Regions from separate parts of the Homo sapiens genome. Here region 1 is linked to region 2. Evidence: promoter capture Hi-C in 16 types of primary human blood cells and fetal thymus (Javierre and others, 2016). All regions are on one chromosome and are shown on one strand. The core of a region is centred on a gene start or on the middle of the fragment in contact, and the rest is flanking DNA. Distances in the headings are between cores, read along the strand shown. Region 1 has its middle 11 kb from the start of LINC02482. Region 2 holds the start of BLOC1S4 (biogenesis of lysosomal organelles complex 1 subunit 4).

What was found. Contacts are between HindIII fragments. The CHiCAGO score rates a contact against its expected background, and 5 or more counts as called.
Region 1: a contact is called between a fragment that was not itself captured here and the fragment with the promoter of BLOC1S4 in region 2, in 7 of 17 cell types (naive CD8 T cells, naive CD4 T cells, fetal thymus and 4 more). The highest score is 11.2, in naive CD8 T cells.

Annotation. Positions count from the first base shown.
Region 1 is chr4:6,660,890-6,664,292 of GRCh38, forward strand. No RefSeq gene overlaps it. Among named protein-coding and RNA genes, the nearest start is that of LINC02482, 11 kb to the right of the region's middle. The HindIII fragment of the contact is 956 bases long and covers 1,676-2,631 here.
Region 2 is chr4:6,714,393-6,717,700 of GRCh38, forward strand. It overlaps BLOC1S4 (biogenesis of lysosomal organelles complex 1 subunit 4), which reads left to right and starts at 1,782. Exons shown (of 1, transcript NM_018366.3): 1 at 1,782-3,272. The coding sequence starts at 1,818. The coding sequence ends at 2,471. RefSeq lists enhancers at 1,502-1,701, 2,184-2,823 and a silencer at 1,982-2,031. The HindIII fragment of the contact is 17,705 bases long and covers 1-3,308 here.

The sequences.
Region 1 (3,403 bases), core at 904-3,403, 53 kb before region 2:
GGAGTGCAGTGGCGCAATCTCTGCTCATTGCAACCTCCTCCTCCTGGGTTCAAGCGATTCTCCTGCCTCAGTCTCCCGAGTAGGTGGGACCACAGGCATGCACCATCACGCCCAGCTAATTTTTGCCTTTTTAGTAGAGATGGGTTTTCACCATGTTAGCCAGCATGGTCTTGATCTCTTGACCTCATGATCCACCCACCTCGGCCTCCCAAAGTGCTGGGACTACAGGTGTGAGCCACCACGCCCAGCCGAAGAAGAAGAAATTTTCATCACGATTGTCTATTGATGAGATGGTTGGTCTTATTTTTTGTTTTTGGAATTTCTCAATAGTTTTAACTTTTCCTGCTTCTGTGCATTTTGCTATGTCACATGGGACCTAATCACTGTTGGACACTTTGGGACAAGCAGGAAACTTGTGTCAGTCCTCAAACCACAGAGTTGTTGAAGGAGCTCCACCTGTTCCATTGGAAGATGCCCCTGGGAAATGAGGTGGAAGACAGTTTTGTATGCAGTTTAGAACTTTCTCTGTGAGAACAGATGAGATTTTTCCTCTTAAGTTAAATCATGTCATTTGGTGCACATTGTGTGACTTCGCAGGTCAGTTTGGACAACTAGCTACGTCTAATTTGACTTGAAACCTACATATGATGGAGTGCTTTCTTGTGTTTTGTCTGTGGTTTGACTTAGGGTCAGCTTCCTTGAAGGATCTCCCTAGTGCATTTCAGGCCCTGTGGGGCGTAGAAGAAGAGAAGTCTGAAAAGGGCCTTGAAGATCTCTGGGAAGCAATCGTGGTGCTGGCGCTTTGGTCTTCCTTCACGGGGTCATAACCTACCTGGTTAGGCCCATTTGAATAGACCCCACAGGGATTTGAGGTTAAAATACCATATGTGGCTGGGTGTGGTGGCTCATGCCTGTAATCCCAGCACTTTGGGAGACCAAGGTGGGAGAATTCCTTGAGTCTAGGAGTTTGAGACCAGCTGGAGAAACATGGTGAGACCCCCCACTCTACAAAAAAAAAAAAAAAAATTAGCCAGGCATGGTGGCACTCACCTGTATCCCAGCTACTCAGGAGGCTGAGGCAGGAGGATCGCTTGTGCCTGGGAGGTTGAGGCTGCAATGAGCTGAGATCATGTCACTGCACTCCAGCCTGTGGGTGACAGAGCAAGACCTTGTCTCAGAAAACAAAACAACAAAACAAAAACAGCACACCCACATGTAATAATGGTTGTTGCTTGTAAAAATGTAAAACCTAAAAACCTATTTTTATCCAAATGAACCAAAGCCCTTAAACTTCACCAGGAAAAAGAAAATAAAACATGTTTCTGAAGATCACAGTGTCTGTCTCATTGTCCTCAAATGCAGTAAACTGCGGGTTATAATGCATTCAGTGAAGCTGCAATTGGAAGAACAGATAATCCCCAGGCATGGAAATGAGGTTGGAGTAAGAGAGAAACTGGCACACTTCAGGCCCTAGGTACCTGTGTTCAAAAGCACTGGCTACACGATGCGCCCAGACCCTGGAGGAGGAATACAGACATGAGACCTGGTGGTAAAGACAACAAAATAATTCAAAGACAGCGTGCCAGGTGTCACACATGCAGGCAGTAACTCTATTGAGGGGCATCTTATATGCCAGCTATTGTTCTAAAATAGAACAGTGTTACCGCCCTGATGAAGCTTACATTTTAGAGCAGGGAACCTTCAGAAAACATATAAATATGTCCTGTGGTGACATGTTTGGTGGGTAACAAAAGGCACTGTACTGCTGGTAGACATGTAAGATGTAGGAGGAAGGTGGAGTAAGGATGAGGTGGCCCAGACTGCAGCTGAATCTCCGGTCCACTGCCGACTGACTCACTTTGTAATGTTTCGCAAGTCTCTTCACCTCACTTTACCCCTTCTATAAAATGGGTATACTCAAGAGTAGCTACCTCATGGGGATATCAGGAAAATTAAATGAGTTGATATTATGTCAGTGGGCCACAGTTGGCTGATCCCTGGGTAGATTTCTGTTGCAGCAAAGCATTCTCTGAAATGTCATTTAGTTAGGAAGGTTATTAGTGAGTGCTCTTAGGATCCACCCCTGTGGGAGGGAAGGAAAAGAACCAGGATGGGGCGAAGGAGAAGTCTAGCTATGATGAAGGTTCAGCAGACGCTTCAGCCAACTCTCTAGGGAGTTCTGAAGACGGTGTGACAGGCAGCCTCTAAGATGGGCCTCAGCAATCCCTGCCACCTGGCATTCAGGTCTTTGTAGAATCTCTGTTTTGAGAGTGGGCCAGAGTTATTGACTTGCTTCTAGTGGAGAATTCTGCAGAAGCGGTGGGATGTCCTGGCTTCCACCGTGTACGCCCTCTCTCCCTCTCAGCATTGCTCAGCCCGGGTATAGCAGACACCGTGCTGTGAAGCAACCCAGTGTAAAGGCTGTGCGGTTTGGGACCAAGGACTGGCAACAATCACAGGCTTGATTTTCGAAAAGGTCGCCCCTCACCATCCCAGTTGAGCTTTCAAACTACAGTAGCCCAGCCAACATCTTGACTGCAACCTCCAGAGACCTTGAGCCAGAGGCACCCAGCTAAGCCCTGCGCAGCTCCCTGACCCATGGAAACTGTAAGGTAATAAATGTTTGTTTTAAGCTTTTAAGTTTTGCGAAAATGTGTTATGCAGCAATGGGTAACTAGGACGGTTTGATGGCTCTTCAGAGCCCTCCCCACGTTGGGGTGAGAGGACTGGGCTTTCTACCTCTGCAGAGATCAATCACCAAATGCAGCTGCCCCAGGAAGGATGGGGTGACAATCTCTGAAGATGGCTGCTGGCTTGGGGCTGTCTCAGCAGCTGGAATAAGACCTTCATTCCTAAAGGGCAGTCTGAGCCATGTGTCCTCCATAGCTGCCAACGTTCTGAGGCTCTAGACTGTCGCCTGCTCAAGTTCACCAAGGTTTGTAGACACCGTTAGAGCCAAGGCTAGCTTGAACGCTCCTATGCTTGGGTTACCTGCTTATTCTTTTTCCTATTTGGCCTCTAAGGAGTCCGTATTTTTTTCTTCCAGCTCAAGTCCCGGAAAGCAGCCGCGCGTGGGACAGTCGCCCTGGCCGCTGGCCGCCGGGCCCCACGGCGCCGTCCGTCCCCGGCCCCAAGCCTCCCTGAGCCTGCGGCCGGGGTTCCCTCCTGGCCGACCCTGGGCCTGGAGCGAGGGGGCGCGGACATGCGGAAGGGGACCGCGAGGCGGGTGCGCCCGGGACCCTGGGTTCCGGGTCCTGCGTGCCGTGCTCGTCCAGAGCCGGGAATGTTCGCCTCCGGGTGGGGCCCTGAAGCCATAGCGGGGGTCGCCCCCCTGTCGCCTCCTGAGGGCGCGCGCCTCGTGACAGGGGCCTTGACCTGGTAAAGCCAGAGCTCGGGGAGCTCC
Region 2 (3,308 bases), core at 532-3,031:
GGTTTGCCCTAAGCAGTTTCCAACTTGACTTTTCTTTTAGCTTAGTAATTGTAGGACCCCAAGATTTATCTTCCTTTCGCAGGTTGGAAGGAAAGAGATGCCACACTACCTTTCATGAACTAATGTCCAAATCATACATCATCACTTCTGTGTTTTTCAGTTTATTATGAGCAAATGAAGTCACTAAGTCCAGTACATACTCGACAAGAGGGAATACACAAGAGTGAGAATACCAGGAGTAAGAAATCACTGGGAGTCATCTTGAAGGCTGGCTAGCAATCACAGTTTGCCCCCTGACTACCAATTCTTCATGCCATTTTAACGTGCTAACCACACTCCCCTCTATCCAAGGTCCCCAAAAGTTACATTTTTTTAAATCTCATGTAGTTTTAGGTATTACTATCCTATTGTCACATCAGCTTTAAGTCCAGAATTTTGTCTTCTCAATAAGATCAGATGTAGATGAGGCTTTCTGAGCTTAGTTCCTTAAATTCAGCTCCTAGAGTACAATTCTTCTTGATCTGTAGACTTTTGAAACTAAGGAGACAAGTTCTCTGCCCCCATGCCTGGAATATACAGTTGTGGGGCTGGCACAGGATAATCACTACAGACCTGTTCTGCTCCACTACGACTAGATTAGCCACTGCCACTCCTGTTCAAAAAGGGGGAAATTGGAAGTACAAACAAGTTGCCAGCCCACAGTAACTCTGCCATCCAGTCTCAAGGTCTAGGACTCCATGACTCCCAGTTCCACCATCTGGGCTCCTGGTTTCATGCCCTGAGTTATACTTCCTTTTTTGTGAAATGTGGCATGTGTTTGCCAATGAGTCTTTTTCTCAGTCTGATTCCTGCTTGTACAAGTTTGGGGAGAGGGGATCCAAAGGCCTGTTCCTTTCAGTCCAATCTGCAATGTTTGTGTCAATATAATTATCTTTAAAAAACTTTATAGGTCTCCTGTGAATCTCATCGGGGTTCACTCCGTTAAACAAAAGTGCTACCTACAAATCCCTTTGAGATAAGTCCATCTCTATCTTGGGCTTCTGCTAATACTGACGAACAAGCCTTAAGCCTTCTGGAGGCCTTGTGGTTTGACTGATGGACTCTGTGAGCCACACCATTAATCTCTTTAAGGAGCTGTTAGTCTAACTGAATGGTATTCTCAGGCACCGTCTTTGCTTTTTTTTTTGAGATTTTAAAGGATTTAACCGTCACATCTCAACTTCACCTTTGTTTTTTTCTGGCAGTACCCTGGATTTGATATTTGCTTGGAAACTATTACTATTTCTTAGTTTTACGCCATTTGCAATCAGGCGAAGCTGAGGACTTTAAAAATCATCCAAAGTCGTCAAGGTCCATCCCTTTTGTGTTTCGTCTTGCTTATCTCATTTATTTTACTATAAACAGCAAAAAGAAATGAAGGACAGGAGGGAGACGTTCATGGGTGCTGGACATGTCCTACCTGTTGGTCTGGATAGAAGATGCATGGTTGTATGGATGTGTACAAAGTCATCAATGTGCACACTTAAAATGTATGCACTGTATTGTATTCCTGCTATACCTTCGCTTAAAAAAGAAAAAAAAGGTTGAATGTGAGTTCGGGCGTGAGAAAACAGCAGCGCGCATGCGTGAGCGTGAGCGCGCATGCGTGAGCGTGAGCGCGCTGGGAGGCCGGAAACAAAGGTGGATGCGCGTGAACAGACGCCCTCGCAGGCCGCCGGAAGCAAAGGCGTGAGCGCGCGTGCGTGCGTGTGCGGGTGCGTGAGCGTGAGCGCGCGGAGGCCGGAAGCGAGCGCTGCGCAGTCGGGTGGTCGCGGGCCATGGAGGGTAGCTTTTCGGATGGCGGAGCGCTGCCGGAGGGGCTCGCGGAAGAGGCCGAGCCGCAGGGCGCCGCCTGGAGCGGGGACAGTGGCACTGTTTCCCAGAGCCACAGCAGCGCCTCGGGGCCGTGGGAGGACGAGGGCGCGGAGGACGGCGCGCCGGGCCGCGACCTGCCGCTGCTTCGCCGCGCCGCTGCGGGCTACGCCGCCTGCCTGCTGCCCGGGGCCGGGGCGCGGCCCGAGGTCGAGGCCCTGGACGCGAGCCTAGAGGACCTGCTTACCAGAGTGGACGAGTTCGTGGGCATGCTGGACATGCTTCGCGGCGACTCGTCCCACGTCGTCAGCGAGGGCGTGCCGCGCATCCACGCGAAGGCCGCCGAGATGCGGCGCATCTACAGCAGGATCGACCGGCTGGAGGCCTTCGTGAGGATGGTGGGGGGCCGCGTGGCCAGGATGGAGGAGCAGGTCACCAAGGCCGAGGCCGAGCTGGGCACCTTCCCCAGGGCGTTCAAGAAGCTCCTGCACACGATGAACGTGCCCTCGCTCTTTAGCAAGTCTGCTCCCTCGAGGCCACAGCAAGCCGGCTACGAAGCCCCCGTCCTGTTTCGGACCGAAGACTACTTCCCTTGTTGCAGTGAAAGGCCTCAGCTCTGACGGCCTGACCACTGCGGCAAGAGGACCCCAGCTGGGGTGCTTACCTCCAGTATGAAGTGAATTGCAAATCCTGCTTATGGACATATATGATGTTGGAGTGTGGGATTTTAAAGTTTACTTTCTACAAACTCTCCGTAGTATATTCATGATTCAGTGTAGAATGTATAGACTTTATGTCTTCCAAGTTTAAAAAAAGAGACAGGGTCTTGGTATGTTGCCCAGACTGTTCGGAAACTCCTGGGCTCAAGTGATCCTTCCACCTCAGCCTCCCCAGTAGCTGGGACTACGGGGTCGCCACTGCACCCAGCCTGTGTCTTCCAGCTCTAATCAGAAAGCTGCTTGTCGAGGGCATGGGGAATCAAACTGAATGAACTTTTCTCTGCACTGTGGCAAAACTGTTATTTTTATGGATTTTACTAAATGGCGTTACCTTTTCAAGATTTATATGTTTGTATAATCATAAGAAAATTGAGCCATTAAAGCCTTGTTATTCAATCCTAATAGTCAGTTTTCTAGAACCTACTTTTAGGGTAAATGGTACATTATTTAATATTATATTAAACCTCCTATAGCGTGGATTGTAGACCAAAGGAAATGGTACAATTTCTGAGAATATATGTTGATTTTTTGTGACTAATTCCAAAGTTGTATTTGAAAGTATGACCTCACAGTCTTCATTTGTCCATAGCAAACATATGTGTGTGTGTGTGTATATATATATGTGGGTTGCCAATGTTTGGTTTATAATTTAAATGTTAATAGAAATTTTGAGTTTTATTGGAAATGATTTCCTTCTGAAAAGAGCTTTACGTATTTCCTTGTGTGTGTTTGAAATAG